Regions from separate parts of the Homo sapiens genome. Here regions 2, 3, 4, 5, 6 and 7 are each linked to region 1. The links are contacts of gene promoters, found by promoter capture Hi-C in blood cells and fetal thymus (Javierre and others, 2016). All regions are on one chromosome and are shown on one strand. Each heading gives the region's core, a stretch centred on a gene start or on the middle of the fragment in contact. The rest is flanking DNA. Distances are from core to core; before and after follow the strand shown.

Region 1 (2,912 bases), core at 159-2,658:
CATCTTATGTTTTACCCATGTGCTCTATAGCAGTTAACACTGGGCTTATTAAAGGTACTCAATATGTGATTGTAAATTAACTGGTGAAGCATTCCCTCATTCTTGTTTATTTTATACATTTATTTAATGAAGCCCTTTTCATAGAAATTGTCAAGATAAATGTATCCTCATTTAGATCAAAACAAATTCTAAATTAATGAAGTCATGACATTTTACTGTATTTTGGTTTTTTTGGTTTATCTGTGAAGTCCTCAAACCTGTGAGTAGTGCTGACCCTAGCCTTGAATGAACAGCCCTGTACTAACTGCAAGGCCAGAAGAACCCCTGCCCTTCCCCTCCCCACCCCCCCACATCATTTCCAGAAGTTCTAAAGAACAGTTGAAATTTACGGAGATCAGACTGGGTTGAGTGTGGGATTTCCAGGGTGGGTTCTAGAAGGAGAAGTGGGTCTTCTGTAGTTTGTTGAAATTTTATTTTCCAAACCCAGCCCCCAAGTTTTTCTTCCTCTATTTATGTGCAAGGACAAAACAGTTACTGTCCTACCTACATAGGATATGGACTCTGTCTGCTCTGAGCCCATTTTAGTTTAGAATATAGAGACCTCCCTCCAGGTCCTAAGAGAGAGATTCCATGAGAGATGTGCAACACCATAAGGTTGGTGATTTGTACTTTGAAATGGCTGCCTTTATTTCCTTTAAAGTCAATATCTTATATTTGAATAAACACAGTTTGCAAAGCATCTTTACAGAAATCTCATTGGATCCTCACGGTCACCTTTTTTCTGAGACAGAGTCTCACTCTTTCACCCAGGCTGGAGTGCAGTGGAGCGATCTTGGCTCCTCCACTTCCTGGGCTCGAGTGATCCTCCTTCCTTAGCCTCCCAAGTAGCTGGGACCACAGATGCGTGCCACCATGCCCAGCCAATTTTTGTATTTTTGGTAGAGATGGGGTTTCGCCATGTTGCCCAGGCTGGTCTCAAACTCTGCAGCTCAAGCAATCCACCCGCCTTGGCCTCCCAAAGTGCTGGGATTACAGGTATGAGCCACTGTACCCTGCCCTCACAGTCACCTTTTGAAGAACCTCCTGCTCAAGAGATCCTCCTGCCTCAGCCTCCTGAGTAGCTGTGATGACTACAGGCTTGTACTACCATGCCTGGCTAGTTTTTTTATTTTTTGTAGAGACGGGGTTCCCTGTGATGCCCAGGGTGGTCTCAAACTCCTGAGCTCAAGCCATCCTCCCACCTCAGCCTCCCAAAGTGCTGGGATTGTAGGTGTGAGCCACTGCACCTGGCCAAGCATTAGTTTTAATCTTGTTTTATAGATGAATAAACTGGGGCTGACTCAAACTGACTCAAAGTCACACTGTCATTACCTTTTTGATCCTGTACGTTAGACTGGGCTGTATGCATGTTCTTGCTGGCGCAATAAAGTTGCAAGTGCCAGCTAACAGCCCTTCCCACTCCACCTCACCACCTCATAGAGGAAAATTGTGACGTTAATGGGAAATGTCAGCGGTAATGTCTTCAGGCTGGGCCTGTGGAGTGACTCCCTTGCCACAGGATATTTAAGCAATGCTGTGTCTTGTCTGAGGCTCAGACCTGCTATTCTTATTGGCACTTGGGACCTGCATGGTTTTTGGCTTCACCTCCAGCTTTAGCCATTTTTCTTCTGTTCTTTTAGGTAAGGATTTTCTGCCCCAGACCTCAGATTCCCATTTCCTTCCTAGCTTCTCTGCTGTTATAGCTCAGTCTCTTCCAAGACCATGCAAGATTCAGACCCTAGTAGGAGGAGATGGAGGAACTAGGACTTAAACCCACATCTTGTGATTCCAAGGCTGGTTCCTCTTTTGCCCTGCACCACACAGCTGTCTGCTCACAGTCATGTGACAGGGGCTTCCCCAGCCAGAACCTCCAGGGAGCACAAATAAAGGAAAGAGCTGGAAGGCACAGTACAGCATTTGTTCTGTCCAAGCCTTACATATCAGCATGGGCAGGGAGAATGTGGTGAAGTTTTCTTTCAAGGACTTTGTTTGATAAGGAAGGACATTTATCAGTGAAGAGAGGTTTTGAGGGAAGTGAACCAATCTTGAGATAAGTACACAAAAGAGCTTTGAGTCTGGTGTTTCCCTGTTTGCTTCTGCCCCCTGGAGGAGCAAATACTCCATGATTAGAGACGTGTGAGTCCTTTGGAATAGAATAGCAGTGATGGAACTGGAGTCCTAGTCCAGGTTCTCTCCTTGTTCAGCCTGGATTCAGCACTGGGTATCGAAACAAGCCTGCACCCTCAGAGGAGATGGCTAGGGGACAGTGCGTCCAGGCCTCTTCTACCACACAGAGTTTTCTTTTTTTTATAAAGGGTATACACATTTAAAATTTAATGATACTCCCAAATTGCTCTTCAAAAAGGCTGTGCAAAATTACAGTCCTGATAACAGCTACCCAGAGATCCTGTAACGGCATTTGCCCTCATCATTATTATTATTATTATTATTATTATTATTATTATTTGAATTTGAGACGGAGTTCTGCTCTGTTGCCCAGGCTGGAGTGCAGTGGCGCAATCTTGGCTCACTGCAACCTCTGCCTCCCGGGTTCAAGCAATTCTCCTGTCTCAGCCTCCCTAGTAGCTGGGATTACAGGTGAGCACCACCACGCCTGGCTAATTTTTGTATTTTTAGTAGAGACGGGGTTTCACCATATTGGCCAGACTGGTCTCGAACTCCTGACCTCAGGTGATCTGCCCGTCTCGGCCTCCCAAAGTGCTAGGATTACAGATGTGAGCCACTGGGGCTGGTTGCCCTCACTATTTAATGGGTTATTTGCAACCTGTGAATCATGTCTCCTATTTCCTTGTTAATGATGCTTATTGATTATAGACTTAGGAATATCAGCACCTCCTTTGTAGCTCTTCATT
Region 2 (2,912 bases), core at 185-2,684, 240 kb before region 1:
GTTACTAGATTCCACTTTACAAAAGAATGAGAAAGGATTAAATAAAAATGAATCCCCAAGTTTTTCATTTTTGCCACTTCCATATCTAAATCAGTAACTCACAATCTAATTTCATTTTCAACCAACATCTGAACCTTTATTTTCAATTAAGCATAAATTAAAATCTTAGCACTACCAATGCATTCTTTTTAAAAAATTAGTAATGTTTTAACATTTTCTTCTACAGGATTATCAGAAAGTCTATAAATTAAGTTCATAAAATAAATGTTGCGATATTACAAGAAGAGAAAGAGACCAAAATAATAGTTGGGTCTTTTCCCTCCATTTAACTTTAGACTAAAACATCCTCATTTAGTATCTGAATTTTTATTTCCAAAAATTATGTTCTAAATTAGATTGAGAACATCTTTTTGGCAACCTGTGTTTTTAAACATGTAAAAGGGGAAAAAGCGTACTAAAAACAGTAAAAATTTTCTGATTTATATTAATAGAATTTGTCTTGTAAGACTGATATCTCTAGAAGGAAAAATAGTAACAATTAACTTACTGAGAGGAGCATTGAGGTGGTCAATGGATGCTATAAGGTAAATGTTATGCAAAGATGACAACTGACCAATGATTTGCTGGCTCTTCTCTCCTCTCAACATCTGGCTATCCAAATTGTGGATGAGAAGGAAGAGTTCTAAAGAAGAATCTAAAAAGAAAAGAAATCCAATTATTATTATTATTATTTTTAGAGGGTCTCACTCTGTTGCCTAGGCTAGAGTGCAGTGGTACAATCATAGCTCACTGCAGCCTCCAACTCCTGGACTCAAGCAATCCTCCCACCTCAGCCTCTCGATTACCTGGAACTAGGCGCACACCACCATGCCTGGCTAATTGTTTTTTTGGTAGAGACGGGGTCTCACTAAGTTGCCCAGGTTGGTCTTGAACTCCTGGACTCAACTTGGCCTCCCAAAGTGCTAGGATCACAGACGTGAACCACCATGTCCAGCTGCAATTATTATTTTTAGTGATATTTCAGTGATTATTTCCTCTACCATACACAATGCCTAGGTATTAAAAAATAAAGTAGTATAGGATAAAATAATGATTGCTTAGGGGTATGTAATTTATTTGAGAAGATATGTCATTTACTCATAAAATAGACATGATTAGCACTGAAGTCAGGCCCTACAGAAAGCAGCTTTTTGTTTTGTTTTGTTTTTTAAGACAAGTTCTGGCTCTGTTGTCCAGGCTAGAGTGCAGTGGGGTGATCTCAGCTCACTGCAACCCTGACATCCAGGGCTCAAGCCATCCTTCCACTTCAGCCTCCCGAGTAGCTGGGACTATAGGCGTGTACCACCACACCTAGCTGATTTTTATATTTTTTGTAGAGATGGGGTTTCACCATGTTGCCCAGGCTGGTCTAGAACTCGTGAGCTCAAGTGATCTGCCCGCCTCGGCCTCCCAAAGTGGTGGGATTACATGTGTGAGCCGCCGTGCTCAGCCTAAAGAAAGCAGCTTTAATAAGGCATGGGAAATAGGCAAGATGTATACAATAGATTGGAGGTGAATCTGTGCATGTTTTATTACACTGTGGGAGTGGAGGGATACCAAAAAAACCAAAGGATTTCTCAGAAAGCATTATATATAATGCTCTCAGAGATTATATAGAAAACCCGGATTATCACAAAAGCCAAAGGAGACCAAAAAAGGAGTGGGTGGGGGGTGGGGGTTAGGATACTGCTCAAGGCATCAGGAAGTTCAGATAAATTATAAAAGTCAGTGAAGGAGGAATTTAGAGGATGGAGCTGTTGACACTATCAAATACAGCAGAGATCAAGATAAAGGATGAGCCAAGGTCACTGGGCTTGGTAAGAAGAAAGTTACAGGTGATCAAGCATACAGTTCTGATAGCACAGAGGAAAGACATTAGAATGAAATAGGTAAAAAAAAAAAAAAAAAAAATTGAAGGCAGGACATGTCTTCCAAAATACTGAAACCGTATGAAACAGAAAAATAAAATAGTGTGAAAGGGCAGCAGAATCAGGTAACTTTTATTTTTAATGTATATTTAAAAGCCACAGGTATTGATAAGTCTCTCTGGAGACTTGGCATACGTGATAGAGTATAAGTCTTTCAGAGAGTGAGTTAATTTCTCTTCTACTCGGGGGTAGATGGGTAAGAGAGACAATACAGTGACAAAGATTCTGAGATGACACATTGTGAAAATCCCAGGTTCCCTGAAATCTAGACGTCATCATATTTAACAGTATCAAAACCAAAAACACCCAAAACCAAACGTATGTATACACACAGACGCACACAAATATAAAGTGACTTAGGCATCTATTTTAATGAGCATACGAACAATACTGGGCTCTTACAAGGATCTGTGGTAAGGGAATAAAAAGCAATGCTTCTGTTATTCTTTAAGTAGGAGAACTTATGTTGAAAACTAAAGACAATTCAGAAAAACAAGGCAAAATTATTATAGGAATAAATATTGCAGCAATTGATTTTTAATTAAATAATAAGGTTGAAAGAACTGAAAACAAACCAAACAGATTTGTTTCTCTTACAATAACCTGCTAGTAATTCACTATATGCCCACATAATCAATGAATAAGATATGTTCACATATGCAGTAGTTTTAGGGTTCTGGGAAATATATACTTGACTCTCATTACATTAAGTTCTATGCTGCTGCAAATCCTGAATTATTGAATACTGAACCACTGTTCCCAGAGGAAATACAGGGTTAGGTTCAATATATAACTTTGTTTTATGTGTGTTTCTGTTTAAAGGCAATTTTATTTTTATTTATTTACTCTTTTTGGAGACGGAGTCTCGCTCTGTTGCCCAGGCTGGAGTGCAGTGATGTGATCTTGGCTCACTGCAACCTCCAACTCCCAGGTTCAAGCGATTCT
Region 3 (2,912 bases), core at 294-2,793, 210 kb after region 1:
TGCTGGCACCATGACCTGCCAGCCAACAGTTGTATTTCAGCATCTTTTCTGAATTTGCACAGTAACATTTGCTCATTTGAAAATTTTGTGGTATTTTGGCCCTTAACTCATAAAAACTAATGAAAAACAGAAAAATAAAACTTACTATTAGCCTAACTCAAATTTAATATAGTGAAACTAACAATAGAAGTCAACAGGATGCTTAAAGCCCCAAATCTTAAACCTCATCAGAAGGTTTTTTGGACTTAAACACATCCACTAGTAGTCATTTGTGAAAGAAAACACAATTAAAGATGATGAGAATAGCACTAAATTTGATATCAAAGTAGAGTCTCAAGCTTCATTTCTCACAAGATGGTCATAATTCTAAATGGATACTGAGTTTTTTTAAAAAAACAGTTTCTTTTTTTTTTCCAAGATGGCAGATTAGAGTCTTTCAGTGTGCCTTGGCTCCTTGGAAATAGCAAGATAGTGTGTAAAGATCATCTCTGTGGGTTTTTATCCAAAAAGGAAAATGGGAATCCACTAGAATTGTGAAGGACACCCCAGATGCCAGGGAGGAGAATGTGGACAAACAGCCCCAGTGATGGCATGCAGCTGATAAAAATGAGTGAAGCCCTAGTACATGGGAGAGGCAGACAGCCTCCCTCTATGACTCACCTTTCCACTTGGGATCCAGGCAACCCAGGCTGAGGGAGAGCACTTTGTTTCTCGCAAGCTCTGGAGCTAACTTGGGGAAGCGGCTTGGAAACACTGTGAGGAAAAGACATAGAGAAAAGCTGCAAACATTTTCCCAGACTCAGGACTGAAAGCAGGGTGCCATTTTTAATCCAGGCATTCTTTGGTGACCTAGCAGTGTGGCCACACAGGCATTTTAGTCTTGGGTCAGCAATTGGAGCACCTGCTCTGGCTTAGGGTAGGAGTCTCCATAGCCAGAACTGTGCAAAGAGCCTCAGTAGTAGGTGCAGGGATTGTGCTCTCCCGCTTTGCAGGCCTGAGGTGGGAGGAGAGCTGCTACAGCTGCAGTTTCTCCTGTGTGATGAGACTTGCAGCCAGGGCTAGCTTGGTAACCTGGAACTAGTCTGCATATGTCATTGCAGGGTGACCCAGCCTGCTCCCCTGAGATTGTGGTGCAGCAGAGCCCTCTGCTCCACCCTCAGGCAGAAATCCAGGCATTTGGAGCACTTGCTTGTCTGGACCAGCAGCCTGAGCTGCCTCACCCTTCATGGACATAGATTGTGGTACAGCGTGGCTCTCTCTGCTCCACACCCAGGCAGATCTCCAGGTATCTGGAGCACCCCCTTCCTTGGATCAGCAGCCTGAGTTGTCCTACCTTTCCTGTGTATAGATTGTGGTGCAAGGGTGCCCTCTCCACTCCAACTCTAGGCAGATCTCCAGGCATTTGGAGCACCTGCTCACATGGACTAGCAGCCTGAGTGCCCTACCTTTCCTGTGCAGAGATCTGGGTGTGGGAAAGCCCTCTCCATTTTGCACCCCGGCAGATCTCTAGGCATTAGGTGCACTTGCTCATCTGGTTCAGCAGCCTGAGCCGCTGCCCCTCCCCATTCCAAGACATAGATCATGGTGCAGCAAGGCCCTCTCTGCTCCATGACCAGGCAGATCATCAGGCATTCGGAGCACCCATTTTCCTCGATCAGCAGTCTGAGTCACCCAAACCCTCCTACGCAGAGGTCTTGGTATGGGGGGCCCTCTCTCCTCCATGCTCAGGCAGATCTCTAGGCATTTAGAGCACTCACTTGCCTGGAACAGCAGCCTGAGCACCTCACCCTTCCTGTGCATAGATCCTGGTGCAGTGGGGCTCCATGCCTAGATAGAGCTCCAGGCATCTGGAGCAGTCACTCTACTGGATTAGTTTAAGCCGCCCCCATCCCTTTGCAGGGAACTTGGGGTCGAGGAAATTTCCCAAGCATCTCTGGGTGCTTGGTAGTGGCTACCCACTGCATTCTCCCTCAGTGCTGGTACTTGTACCTGCCATCAGGGGACCTGTAGTTGGACCTGCCTAGTCCAGCTCTGCTCATTTTGGCCCCTCCCTCCCTGTGTCTGAGCAGGGAGCTCAGACCACTATGCACCCCATGAATCAGCTCATTGCCTGAGGTAACAGAGCTTTTCCCCATAAACAAGGATCAAGTATATACTCAGTCACATTGGCCATAGCAGGCTCTTACCTATTAGCACCATCTACTGGTTTGTAGGTTGAACTGCACAGCCCAGTATAAAACCTGCTGACAGAAGTGAATAGGGTTATAGAAGCAAAGCCAAAAGACCCTACCCAGCATTCTTTATAGTCACACTCCCTAGAGAGGGGGGAAAAGGGAAAGGGAAAGAAAAAAAACCCCAATAATATTATAGGGACAGAAGGAAAAATAAATAATCCTAACCTATATGAAAATACTATAAAATTAAAATGCCAGCATCTCCAGATGAGAAGGAATCAGTGCGAGAATTCTGGCACCATGAAAAATCTCAATATAGTGACACCACCAAAGGATCAAACTTGCTCTCCAGCAATGGTCTATAGCCAAAATAGAAACTCAGAAAGAACGGATAAATAATTCAAAGCATGGATTACAAGGAAGATCAATGAGATCCAAGTCAAGGTTAAAAATCAACAACACAAAACTTCTAAAGCAATCCAGGAAATGAAGCAAGAGATAAACATCTTATAAAGAAATCAATCAGAGCTTCTGAAGTTGAAAAACTCACTCAGGGAATTTCAAAATACAATTGAAAGCTTTATCAATAGTCTGGACCTAGCAGAAGAAAGAATTTCAGAGCTTGAAGACTGATCTTTTGAGCTAACTCAGTTACACAAAAATAAGGAAAAAATAATTTTTAAAGGTGAACAAAGGCTTTGAGAAATATGGGATTATGTAAAACAACCAAACCTGTGA
Region 4 (2,912 bases), core at 221-2,720, 190 kb before region 1:
GAACAAAAAAACCTAACAATCACACAATAAAATGCAATATTTAGTGACCATTATGACCCCTCAAGGCACTGCCTTGGTGCTTATAGGCCAACCCCTTTCAAGGAGTTACTTCAAGGCAATTCTGCAGCACCAAGTGTTAGCATTGCACCAAGTGGTAGCAACACACTCTCCTTTGAAAACAAATAAAAGATTTGCTGTAATTTTTAAAAACATAATCCTTTGAAAAAGAAGGTTGGATAGATTAGTGGTTAAACACCAATTTTAATATTGGAGAAACCTGAGTTCCAATCTCCACTCCATACTTTATAACTGTGTGACTTTGTCCAAAGTCCTGACGATTAAATGAAATGATGTGCCTGATATATAAAAGAGCATCACTGAATGCTCCCAATTATCGGTATTTTTACTTTAACCTTTTTCTTTTTTAGCTCCTTACTGCAGTGCACTGAGATATTTTTACTTTAAACTTCAACTTAACCATGCAGATCTCTTGTACATCTCTAACTCATTCAACATCTAACAGAAAAACTGCTCAATAAGTGATGATGTCCGTTTAACGTGCAGTGCCCTTATATAACGGTGTAGGGCCGTGCTATTTTTCTTCAGATTGCAATTTAACTGCGGGAAAGTGTAATGATTCTATTAGGATTTCAATTGTAAAATGAAAAGTAACGTCTCAACATCTTTTTAATTAAAAAGCTCTACCAAAAGAGCCTGGCTTATCAACATTTTACAGCCAAGCATGGCTCCAAGGTGACCGATCAGTTAGCTGGCAGGACACATTGGTGCCTCCAGGCTGGGATGACATCAAAGGTTCTAGCTACAGTGGTTCTGGGACGCGATCTCTTCCTCTTCATACCTCACAGGGCACTTTACCACTGTCGTTACACATCTTCACAGTTCTCCTTTTCCAACCAGAGGGCTTCGTAAGCTGGGAATCAGGTAGGTTAGTATCAGGCGTCCCTTGCACAAAAGGCCTATAACTGCGGGGCAGACTAACGAAAGGTCCTCCCAGAGTGAGCCTCTCACCTCAAGTCTTAAAGGACTTTGGCCTGCGCCTCCAGCCTCTGGCCAGTTGGCTGCGCTCCACCAGTAAGGGTTCTCGAGCCCCCGGGCAGCCTGCGGGGGGCAGCGAGGCGCAAAGACCATGCCCCAAGTGCCGAGGGAAAGTCCTGAGATGCGCGACTTGGGACGCTAGGGGCCAAGCTCCGACGCGGGGCTGGGTGCACCTGGACGCACCTCACACGCCGCGAGCTAAGCAGAAAAGGGAGGCAGGCTGCCCCGACACCCCACTACTCACCGCTAGGTTTCCGTCTGGCGCCGATCCGGCTGCGTCACGCCGGCCGAACGACACCCCGCTGAGTCGCCGCCGCAGGGAAGGTACCTTCGGCCCCAACGGGAAAAGCCAATTTCCAGTAATTCGCGCCCGACCACCGGGGAGGTAAGGAGCACCGGAGGCCAGCTGGGGGATGGGAAGCCTGCGTGCGGCACACCGAATCTCCCGCCCTGTTCAGGGGGCGGTGCCCGAGGAAGCCAATAGGAAGAGGAGTCGGCCAAGAGCGACGGCTCTGCCGTCCAGTCGGCGCCGGCCATTCGGCCCCGCCCATCAGGAAACCTGAGGAAAACGGATTCTTGGGCCCTGAGTTGTGGGCCTTACCTTTCCTTTCTTCTTTCCGTTTCCGGGGAAGGGAAAAGGAAGTGTTGTTTGGATCTGAGGAAGTTTGCACAGTAGCTGGCTGAGTGGTAGCTGTTTGTCTTGTAGCAATCTTTAAAAAGTGTTCTTTGGGGTCGGGCGCAGTGTCTCACGCCTCTAATCCCAGCACCTTGGGAGGCCGAGGCGGGCGAATCACCTGAGGTCGGGAGCTCGAGACCAGTCTGACCGACATGGAGAAACCCCGTCTCTCCTAAAAATACAAAATTAGCCGGGCGTGGTGGCGCATGCCTGTAATACTAGCTACTCGGGAGGCTGAGGCAGGAGAAACGCTTGAACCCGGGAGGCGGACGTTGCAGTGAGCCGAGATCGAGCCATTGCATTCCAGCCTGGGCAACAAGAGCGAAACTCCGTCTCAAAAAAAAAAAAAAAAAAAAAAAAAAGTGTTCATTGGTTTCCCAGCTACCTTTTGAAGAAAAAGGTAATGGAAATTGATTCGCATTTCTTTTTTAAAGATTTTCTTCATTTGGCGTGAAAGGTAGGATCTTGTACATCTCCAGGGTTTGGGGTAGGGAGAAGAAGAGACGTTAGGAGAAGCACTGAATATGGAGATGGGATCGGACGGCTAGTGGGATGAAGAGGCTGGGGAAATAGAATGAATAGACAGAGAAAATGATTGACTTCAACTATCCAAAATATAAAAAAGACAAGACAGAGAAAATGAGGAAGAAAAGGAATGAACCTGGATGGGATCCATACAGTATTAAGAACAGGGTATTGTTTCATTTGGATTCACTTACTCAAAACAAAACTACAGAGTACTCTGCGAACAGAAGATAAGTATTCATTATCGAGCGAGACAACTACGATCTCTGCATTCACTGTAGTTACCTAGCACGTGAAGATATTGAACGGACAATATTGAGAAAAATACCATGATATGGGAAGTGCATTGGAGCACATGGTAGGAGTAGCTAATTAAAAGCCCAGAAGGAGTCAGGAACAATTTTCTAGGAGGAAGAGATGTTTAAACTGAAACCCCTGTGTTGAATAGATTTAAAACAGGCCAAGAGGGGTAAAATTTTCCAGGTAGAAGGTCCAAATCCGTGTAACAGCTGTGTAAAATGCCAAGCATTGGGTCTGTTATTATGAAGGGCTTAGTTGGCCCTTAGGGCACTGGTCAGATTTGTATTGAAAGATCTTTGGATAAAGGAGGTAGGATTGGGAGGGAAGATATAGAGTCACAAGATTTGGGAGCTGT
Region 5 (2,912 bases), core at 283-2,782, 170 kb before region 1:
CAACTGAATCTACACTAAGATCAGTTGGTTGCTGTACATACTGCTTGCGAACTACTGAATCTCGAGGGCTCTCACTGGATTTGATGGCAGAGGCTGTTTCTTTATCCTTGGCTGAACGCCCAGTTGCTACTTTCCTTAAGCTTCCCCTCTGAGAAGAGGAGGATGGTTTGGTCCCAATTGGCTGACTGCTGAGGGAAGCCCCTGATGAAAATCCTTCATCTGCATCATTCAGGTTTACAGACTCCTCTCCTCCATTTACACCCTCAGCACCTAAGAAAACAAATCAGACAGACTCAGCAATAGCTAAATTAAATAAGAAGCAGCTGTGAATAACAACACTGACCTTATCTCTTGGGCAATGTTCGCTATAGGTTGTCAATGGCCCTACTATCAACACTTCCCCTAAATAATTTAGGGGAAATCTTAATCTACACAGAATTCTACTATGCTAATAGATGTTAGTTTAGCTTTATTTAGTCCAGTTTTTGTACAACTATCCACAAACATATCTAGTATACTGTCAATATTTAGGCATGTAAAACGACTAGGTAAAATACAACAGTTTGTTAACATAAATTTTTATAATACACTATCATTCTTCTTCTGAAATGACCATATCTACCTACTGGAAAAAAAAAAAAAAAACTTTTCCCCTCATACCTTCTTTAACCCACCATAAGATGTGCAAAAGAGACCCTCTTCTAATTCCAGTTATCCAGAATTATACCAAAAACCCATTTATGCTTACAGGCCAAACTCTTTTTAACTATAATAAAATTTTATATTTACTCAGTGGTTGGTTAACTGCTTCTATATGGTTTTAGAACCTTTAACATGGAACTAGCAAATTTTTTAAATAACTCAAAACTATATTGCTTCTGTAACTTCACAGTCATATTTTGTCTATGGCCTTTTCTACTCACTGGTTTCCATATTTTGATCAATTAATGTGAAGAAAATATCAGAGAGCAGTGGTAGGGAACCAGCAGGGGTATTTAAGGATTTATATTTTCTATATGGTATGTTTTGATAATATTTTATGTAATTATTTCTATATTTTAGATTCTTAGTATTGAGATGTATTGTCATAATCACAAAATACGATAGTGTCCCATCACATTTCATTTCATGCAGAAACTGCAGTTAACAAAATAATTTATTTATTTATTTTTTTTGAGACAGTCTTGCTCTGTCACCCAGACTGGAGTGCAGTGGCACGATCTTCAGCTCACTGCAACCTCTGCCTCCCAGGTTCAAGTAATTCTCCTGCCTCAGCCTCCCGAGTAGCTGGGATTACAGGCGTGTGTCACCACGCCCAGCTAATTTTTGTATTTTTAGTAGAGATGGGATTTCACCATGTTGGCCAGGCTGGTCTCCGACTCCTGACCTCAAGTGATCTGCCCACCTCAGCCTCCCAAAGTGCTGGGATTACAGGCATGAGCCACCGCGCCCGGCCAACAACAGAATTCTTATCTTGGGTTTTTGTAGGAAGAAGAGAAGAATATATAATATACTGAGCTTGCAGTTTACAGAAAGCCAATTCTCTTACTGAAAGTATGATGAATATTCTCTTAGAAAGTAATACATTTGCTTCTTTCAATAACTCATATTGGTTTGCTACCTATTAAATACATTTTCCAGACTTCTGTAAAGTTTAATCTGAATCTACAAAACAGATATCAACATTACAGGTAAGGTAAAAATGTTAGGAAAGAATCTAAACAAATATTAGAGATATAGGTTACCTAAGCAAAATATATACAAAATATTTAAACACAATCTTTTATTTAACATAGCACCTGGAAAAATAAACTATTTACTTAGCTATATTTACTCATATGGATTATTTTCTTCCTTCTAAAGAATGAAATAAGCTATCCTTAAAGCAAAAGGCACCTTATTATATCCAGCAGTTTAATAATCTTTAATCATCATGCAAAGCCATATGAAAATGCATTTACTAAGAACAGTAGCAGCTGACACCACTTCTCTCAACCTCTTCAAAAGAACTGTATATAATGTACTTTTATAATGTACCTCAAAATAAAAACTTTAAATTATATTCATATGATACATTTTAGTAATTTACTTACAATTAGTATAAAGAACTCCAAAATGCCCAAGAAAGGATAGTTATTGGGTCAGAATTGATATTAGTGATATAAAACTGGGAGTGAACAGAAATGTATCATTAGGTATATTTATTAGGAAAGGAGACTGAGAGACTTAGTGCTAGCTTCTGAATCTTGCTACATGCAGATCTGATGCCCAAGCAATATGGCCATAAAAAAGATGATAACATAAAAGCCACCATGCAAGAGAATCTACTGATATTTTATATACTAAGAAATGCTTAGTATATATAATGGAATACTGATTGTACTTTAATCACAGGTATTATCTTCAGTTTAGTAATAATTTTTAAAAACATTTATTTATTTTTATTATTTTTTTTTGAGACAAGGTCTCACTCTGTTGTATAGGCTGGAGTGCAGTGGCACGATCACAGCCCACTGTAGCCTCAACCTCCCAGGCTCAAGTGATCCTCCCACCTCAGCCTCTTAAGCAGCTGGGACTACAGGCATCTGCCACCATGCTTGGCTAATTTTTGTATATTTTGTAGAGATGGGGTTTTGCCATGTTGCCCAGGCTGGTGTCAAACTCCTGGGCTTAAGCAATCCACCTGCCTGGGCCTCCCAAAGTGCTGATATTATAGGCATGAGCCATCGTGCCTGGCCAGTTTAGTAATAATCTTAACTCCAGCTTTAAAAGTCATAAATAGAATGTACTTGACAATCAGGAGAAAAGTAAGTGATGGGCTTATATTGTCCCTTCAATTTCAACATGTAATAAACCCAATTTTAATTGTAAAATTATTTAAAGCCATCATAGCAGAAAACTAGTCAATAATC
Region 6 (2,912 bases), core at 295-2,794, 160 kb before region 1:
TCTATGTCTCTTTCACCCGTTTAGTAATAAAGCAACTTTAGAACAGAGATCCTGATTTATTAATCTCTATCATTGGTGTCCAGCACGGTGTCTAATACATAATTGTTTAATAAATACTTGTTGAATGAATAAATAAATGCTTTCCTAACATTTATAATGTCTAAGAAAGTGGCTCCTAAATCTGGATGCACATTAGTTATTTAGAGACCTTTTTAAAAACATACACTTCTATGTCTTAACCCAGTTGACCCACTTAAATCCTCGGGTAGGAACTAGGGAAGTTGTACCTCTAAAAAGCTTCCCATAGATGAATGGTGAAGGGTTTATGGAAACTCTTTGTACTATTTTAGCAATGTTTTTTGTAAGTCTGAAGTTATTTCAAAATGAAAAGTTAAAAATCAAGCTGAAAGTCTGATCTGGAAGCAGCCATACTTTCAGATCCCTTCACTTTCTCCATATATCTAGGTAAAAGAATGGAGATTTATTCTCTGAAAGGATAAAAACTAATTTCTACCTGGGAGCCCTAGCTGTGATGGGGGTGGATGCCAAACTGAAAATAGGAAGATTAAGTGAAGTGAAATATACCTGCCTAGATATTGCCAGTTTGCCACCAAAATACTAGCAAAAAGATCTCTAGTTAAGATACCAGAAGAGTTGTTTCTAGGGAATTTGACCACTCTAAGAAGAAAGACTTAAAGATATGGACTTGGGAAATTTTCCAAATGAATGGCCTAGTGGGATCCTATGGTGAAGTTTATAGTCAGTTACTAAGTTGGTGCAAAACTTTAAAAAAAATTTTTTAAATGGCAAAACCACAATAACTTTTGCACCAATACTAGCTCAAATCAGCCATATATTAACATGGTCAGAGCTTCTCATTTTTTATTCCCTCTCCCCACTTTTTTTTTTTTGAGACAGAGTCTCGGTCTTGTCACCCAGGCTGAAGTATAATGGCATGATCTCGGCTCACTGCAACCTCCGCCTCCCAGGTTCAAGCCATTCTCTTGCCTCAGCCTCCCAAGTAGCTGGGATTACAGGTGCCCACCACTACACTTGGCTAATTTTTTTTTGTATTTTTAGTAGCGACAGGGTTTCACTATTTTGGCCAGGCTGGTCTCGAACTCCTGACCTCAGGTGATCTGCCTGCCTCGGCCTCCCAAAGTGCTGGGATTACAGGCGTGAGCCACCGCACCCAGCCTATTCCCCTATTCTTAAACATGAGGGAAAAAAGGTTGCCAGACATCTAAGGAACTCTACTAGGATGAAAAAGAGACTATAAAGAAATAGAAGGGCTGGGCGCAGTGGCTCACATCTGTAATCCCAGCACATTGGGAGGCCGAGGCGGATCATACAGTCAGGAGTTCGAGACCAGCCTGGCCAACATAGTGAAACCCCATCTCTACTAAAAATACAAAAATTAGCTGGGCATGGTGGCGCGCGCCTGTAGTCCCAGTTACTCGGGAAGCTGAGGCAGGAGAATCACTCGAACCCGAGAGGCGGAGGTTATGGTGAGCTGAGATCATGCCACTGCACTCCAGCCTGGGCAACAGAGCAAGACTCCGTCTCAAAAAAAAAAAAAAAAAAAAAAAGAAATAGGAGGCTCCGTCCAGTAGGTCATTCCTGAAATCCCAGCACTTTGGGAGGCTGAGGCAGGGAGGATTGCTTGAGCTCACGCATTCAAGAGCAGCCTGGGTAACATATTGAGACCCTGTTGGTACAAAAATAATTTTTTTAATTAGCGGGCCATGGTGGTAGTCCTAGTTACTCAGGAAGCTGAGGCAGGAGTACTTGAGCTCAGGAGGAGCACCTGAGCTCAGGGGTTCTAGGGTGCAGGCTGCAGTAAGCCATGATCATGCCACTGCACACCAGCCTGGGCAACAAAGCAAGACCCTGTCTTAAGAAAAAAAGAAAAATATGCAGAGCTAAAGCATATTTAGCTTTGGGGAAAAAAATGTATGTGTATTCCTGATAAAGTTGGCTACATAAAAAACTAAAACATACAGCAAAAACAAGTAAATACCAGAATGCCATATCACTCTTTATACCCATTAAGATGGCTACAATAAAAAAGATGGAAAATAAGCGTGAGAATGTAGAGAAACTGCTATCCTCATACACTGTTGTAGAAACGTAAAATGGTACAGCTACTCTGGAAAGAAGCATGACAGTTCCTCAAGAAGTTAAGTGTTGAATTACCATATGACCTAGCAATTCTATTCCTAGGTATATACTAAAAAGAACTGAAAAATGTATGTTCACACAAAAATTTGTGAATGCATGTTCAAAACAGCTGTTGTGGTCTAAATTCATGTTGAAACTTAATCATCGATATGGTGGTATTAAGAGGGTGGGGCCTTTGCAGCTGGGCAAGGTGGCTCATGCCTATAATCCCAGCACTTTGGGAGGCCAAGGCAGGTGGATCACCTGAGGTCAGGAGTTCAAGACCAGCCTGGCCAACATAGTGAAACCCTGTCTCTACAAAAAAAAAAAAAAAAAATTAGCCAGGCACGGTGTTGCACACCTGTAGTACCAACTATTCAAGTGGCTGAGGCAGGAGAATCACTTGAACCCAGGAGGCAGAGGGTGCAGTGAGCCAAGATCGTGACACTGCACTCCAGCCTGGGTGACAGAGCTAGACTCTGTCTCAAAAAAAAAAAAAAAAAAGAGATGGGGCCTTTGGGACACGATTAGGTCATGACAGCTCTGCCCTCCTACATTTGATTATCTAGAAGGTGCCATCTATGAGGCAGAGACTATGAGCCCTTACTAGACACTGAATCTGCTGGCACTTTAAGCTTGTACTTTCGAATCTGCAGAACTGTGAGCAATACATTTCTATCGTTTATATATTACCCAGTCTAAGGTATTTTGTTATAGCAGCCCAAATAGACTAAAGAGAGCAGAGTTATTCA
Region 7 (2,912 bases), core at 287-2,786, 140 kb before region 1:
TAGTAAATACTAAGCCCTTTATGTGAAATCACTATCAGAACAGTTTTTAAAATCTTAAAAAATTTTCCAGAGGCTGGGTGTGGAGGTACACATCCAGCTATTCACAAGGTTGAAGAGGGTGGATAGCTTGAGCCCAGGAGTTTGAGGCTGCATTGAACCATGACAGCATCACTGCACTCCAGCCTGGGTAACAGAGCAAGACTGACACAAAAGAAAAATATTCCAACTCTTCCCTTACATTGAAGTCTAGACCAGTCAGACAATTTGTCAAAGGTTGGTGAAGTTAATGGTGAAATAAGACACTAAATTCAGGTCTTCTGACATCAAGTTGATGTTTCCACTCTACCGCACTTCTTATATTAGAATGGAGGTATAGATTGTTTAATCACAAAACAGTGTATTCTATGTAGTGCCAATAATGAACAAGTAATAAACTTTTGGAAACTGTCAGTTGCTGGCATCTTTCTTAAATATTGAGAGCAATATTCAGTTCTTTAGAAGTAAAAAACTGTTGCTCTCACAAATTTTGTTTACTAAAAATTTATACTCATGTTTCAAACTCAATCTCCTCTTTAGTAAAAAACTCTCCAAAGATTGCCTTCTCTAAACTTTATGGGCCATGGTACAATTATGATGAATTTCTTCTATGAAGACCTTAAACTCCTCTTTCTCAGTAGCAACAGGTACACTGGCATGTGGGACACTATATTTTAACTAAGCACAGTGAAGAAATACAGGGTTACCAGCATTATTACTCTGTGTTTTTTGTAAGCGAATGGGGGGTAGATGTTGGCAATCCAGTAAGTTTTAATCAGATACTACTACAAAGTAAGACCGTTAAAAACTCGCTGGTCAGGTGTGGTAGCTCACGCCTGTAATTCCGGCACTTTGGGAGGCCAAGGCAGGCTGATGGCTCGAGACCAGGAGTTTCAGACCAGCCTGCACAATGTGGCAAAACCTCACCTCTACAAAAAATACAAAAATTAGCCAGGTGTGGTGGCACGCACCTGGGTAGTCCCAGCTATTTTTGGGGGGCTGAGGCAGAAGAATTGCTTGAGCCCAGGAGGTTCAGTCTACAGTGAGCTGTGTTCAAGTCACCGCACTCCAGCCTGGGTGACAAAGTGAGGCCCTGTCTTAAAAAAAAAAAAGAAAAATTGCCAATGCTATGTGTTAAAATCTTTAATTGTGGCCAGGCTCAATAGCTCATGCCTGTAATCCCAGCACTTTGGGAAGCCAAGGTGGGAGGATCGCTTGAGCCCAGGAGTTCAAGGCCAGCCTTGAACACCGTGAGACTCTGTCTTTAGAAAATAAAAAATAAAATTAGCAGGGTGTGGTAGCATGTGCCTGTAGCTAATTGAGAAGGTGAGTTTGGAGGATCACATGAGTCCAGGAGTTTGAGGTTACAGTGAGCTATAATGGTGCCACTGTACTCCAGCATGGGAGAGAGAGTGAGACCCTGGCTCAGAAAAAAACAAACAAACAAACAATAAAAAAACTTTAATTTGAAGCATATGTCTCATAGCAAGCACCATGTTCTCAAATTCTTAATATAAATGATTCTGACCTCCCTTAAATGGCACCACCACCCACATCAAAAAGTATTAAAAATCATCATCCTTGGGTTAGAAAAAATCATAACTGACACCATTCCCAAATTTAGCAAACACTGTTTTGACATGATAATTACTAAGAGACATGATATTTGATGAACACACTGAGAGTATTTGGATGGAATAATGAACAAGCCTAACTTGAGTGGGTTAAAGAATGTGAGGTGAAGAAATGGAGACAAGTAGACAGAGGCTATGAATAAGCAATATTTTATGAAGTTCATCTGTGAATAGGGACAGAGAAATGGGGTAGATAATATAATAGGAGGTAAGCTGAAATAAAGTTTTTAGAGAATAGAATATGGTTGTTTATCATATTCCACTCATCAGGGAAAGAAAAAAAGATCAGTGATGGAAGAGAGAAGGAATAATTGCAGGACCAGAGTCCTTAAGGTAGCTAGAGAAGACAGAATCCAGGCCTAAGTAGAACAGATGGCTTTTCATACAACCTGAGATATTTCACCCACTAAACACCAGAAAAGGCAAGAGAGTGCTGTAGAATGGTAGATTTGAATCTGAAAATATGAAAGTTTCCAAATATTTTCTTTTTTCTCTGAGATGGAGTCTTGGCTTTGTTGCCAGGCTGGAGTGCAGTGATGCAATCTCGGCTCACTGCAACCTCCGCCTCCCAAGTTCAAGCGATTCTCCTGCCTTAGCCTCCTGAGTAACTGGGACTACAGGCGTGCACCACCACACCCAGCTAATTTTTGGTATTTTTAGTAGAGACGGGGTTTCATCATGTTGGCCAGGATGGTCTCAATCTCTTGACCTCATGATCCACTCCGCTCCGCCTCCCAAAGTGCTGAGATTACAGGCGTGAGACACTGCGCCGGCAACTATTTTAAGTTTAATTCATACTAAATATGGCACATGACAATTTTCTAAAATAATTTCTTGTAACCTAAATAGTATGTTTGTTTCTTTCAGAATATAACAAAATCAGGATTAAAAGGGACCTCCTTCTATGACTAAAGTCCAGAATTGTTTTGAAATTCTATAGAATTTATCATTCTATTTTTCTGAAGTCTGAACACATGGTTAGAGCCTTCTAACCTGACAGGAGACAGGAGAGAAATTCAGACCTCCTCTAGCAACTGATTGATTATAATGAATGCTGGACCTTGAGCTCGCATCCCTCAAGCTGTAATTTTTCCATTTCTAGCCATGAAACCCCCAAAGTCCCACACATTAATATTACGAAATATGACAACAGAAAGTAATGAGAATAGCTTTTTTAATGTAATAGCTTCTAAAGTATTAAACAAAAAAATAGGAAAGGGATACTTCTTATACACTTGTGAG

Evidence for each region. Contacts are between HindIII fragments. The CHiCAGO score rates a contact against its expected background, and 5 or more counts as called.
Region 2: a contact is called between a fragment that was not itself captured here and the fragment with the promoter of CFLAR-AS1 in region 1, in 15 of 17 cell types (erythroblasts, neutrophils, megakaryocytes and 12 more). The highest score is 20.6, in erythroblasts.
Region 3: a contact is called between a fragment that was not itself captured here and the fragment with the promoter of CFLAR-AS1 in region 1, in 4 of 17 cell types (neutrophils, activated CD4 T cells, non-activated CD4 T cells and 1 more). The highest score is 11.5, in neutrophils.
Region 4: the fragment with the promoter of ORC2 here is called in contact with the fragment with the promoter of CFLAR-AS1 in region 1 in 14 of 17 cell types (neutrophils, megakaryocytes, erythroblasts and 11 more); the score reaches 16.0 in neutrophils.
Region 5: a fragment that was not itself captured here is called in contact with the fragment with the promoter of CFLAR-AS1 in region 1 in 6 of 17 cell types (neutrophils, erythroblasts, activated CD4 T cells and 3 more); the score reaches 13.0 in neutrophils.
Region 6: a contact is called between a fragment that was not itself captured here and the fragment with the promoter of CFLAR-AS1 in region 1, in 11 of 17 cell types (neutrophils, erythroblasts, activated CD4 T cells and 8 more). The highest score is 14.7, in neutrophils.
Region 7: a fragment that was not itself captured here is called in contact with the fragment with the promoter of CFLAR-AS1 in region 1 in 6 of 17 cell types (neutrophils, erythroblasts, activated CD4 T cells and 3 more); the score reaches 12.3 in neutrophils.

Annotation. Positions count from the first base shown.
Region 1 is chr2:201,156,384-201,159,295 of GRCh38, forward strand. It overlaps CFLAR-AS1 (CFLAR antisense RNA 1), which reads right to left and starts at 1,409. Exons shown (of 7, transcript NR_040030.1): 1 at 1,372-1,409. All of the region lies in intron 8 of CFLAR (CASP8 and FADD like apoptosis regulator), which reads left to right. RefSeq lists enhancers at 1,708-1,787, 1,808-2,137. The HindIII fragment of the contact is 4,248 bases long and covers 1-2,912 here.
Region 2 is chr2:200,920,446-200,923,357 of GRCh38, forward strand. It overlaps ORC2 (origin recognition complex subunit 2), which reads right to left. Exons shown (of 18, transcript NM_006190.5): 14 at 548-694. Among named protein-coding and RNA genes, the nearest start is that of NIF3L1, 33 kb to the left of the region's middle. The HindIII fragment of the contact is 5,097 bases long and covers 1-2,912 here.
Region 3 is chr2:201,361,934-201,364,845 of GRCh38, forward strand. It overlaps a transcript of FLACC1 not described here. Among named protein-coding and RNA genes, the nearest start is that of FLACC1, 6.0 kb to the left of the region's middle. RefSeq lists an enhancer at 1,934-1,983. The HindIII fragment of the contact is 2,414 bases long and covers 337-2,750 here.
Region 4 is chr2:200,962,190-200,965,101 of GRCh38, forward strand. It overlaps ORC2 (origin recognition complex subunit 2), which reads right to left and starts at 1,471. Exons shown (of 18, transcript NM_006190.5): 1 at 1,301-1,471. It overlaps LOC105373835 (a long non-coding RNA gene), which reads left to right and starts at 1,243. Exons shown (of 3, transcript NR_187976.1): 1 at 1,243-1,441. RefSeq lists an enhancer at 704-773 and a silencer at 1,482-1,880. The HindIII fragment of the contact is 10,169 bases long and covers 1-2,912 here.
Region 5 is chr2:200,981,602-200,984,513 of GRCh38, forward strand. It overlaps HYCC2 (hyccin PI4KA lipid kinase complex subunit 2), which reads right to left. Exons shown (of 13, transcript NM_001321623.1): 13 at 1-270. All of the region lies in intron 1 of LOC105373835 (a long non-coding RNA gene), which reads left to right. Among named protein-coding and RNA genes, the nearest start is that of ORC2, 19 kb to the left of the region's middle. The HindIII fragment of the contact is 2,788 bases long and covers 139-2,912 here.
Region 6 is chr2:200,998,492-201,001,403 of GRCh38, forward strand. All of the region lies in intron 7 of HYCC2 (hyccin PI4KA lipid kinase complex subunit 2), which reads right to left. The region is part of intron 1 of LOC105373835 (a long non-coding RNA gene); the gene reads left to right. Among named protein-coding and RNA genes, the nearest start is that of ORC2, 36 kb to the left of the region's middle. The HindIII fragment of the contact is 2,498 bases long and covers 296-2,793 here.
Region 7 is chr2:201,018,621-201,021,532 of GRCh38, forward strand. The region is part of intron 4 of HYCC2 (hyccin PI4KA lipid kinase complex subunit 2); the gene reads right to left. It overlaps LOC105373835 (a long non-coding RNA gene), which reads left to right. Exons shown (of 3, transcript NR_187976.1): 3 at 1-450. Among named protein-coding and RNA genes, the nearest start is that of HYCC2, 52 kb to the right of the region's middle. The HindIII fragment of the contact is 3,143 bases long and covers 1-2,912 here.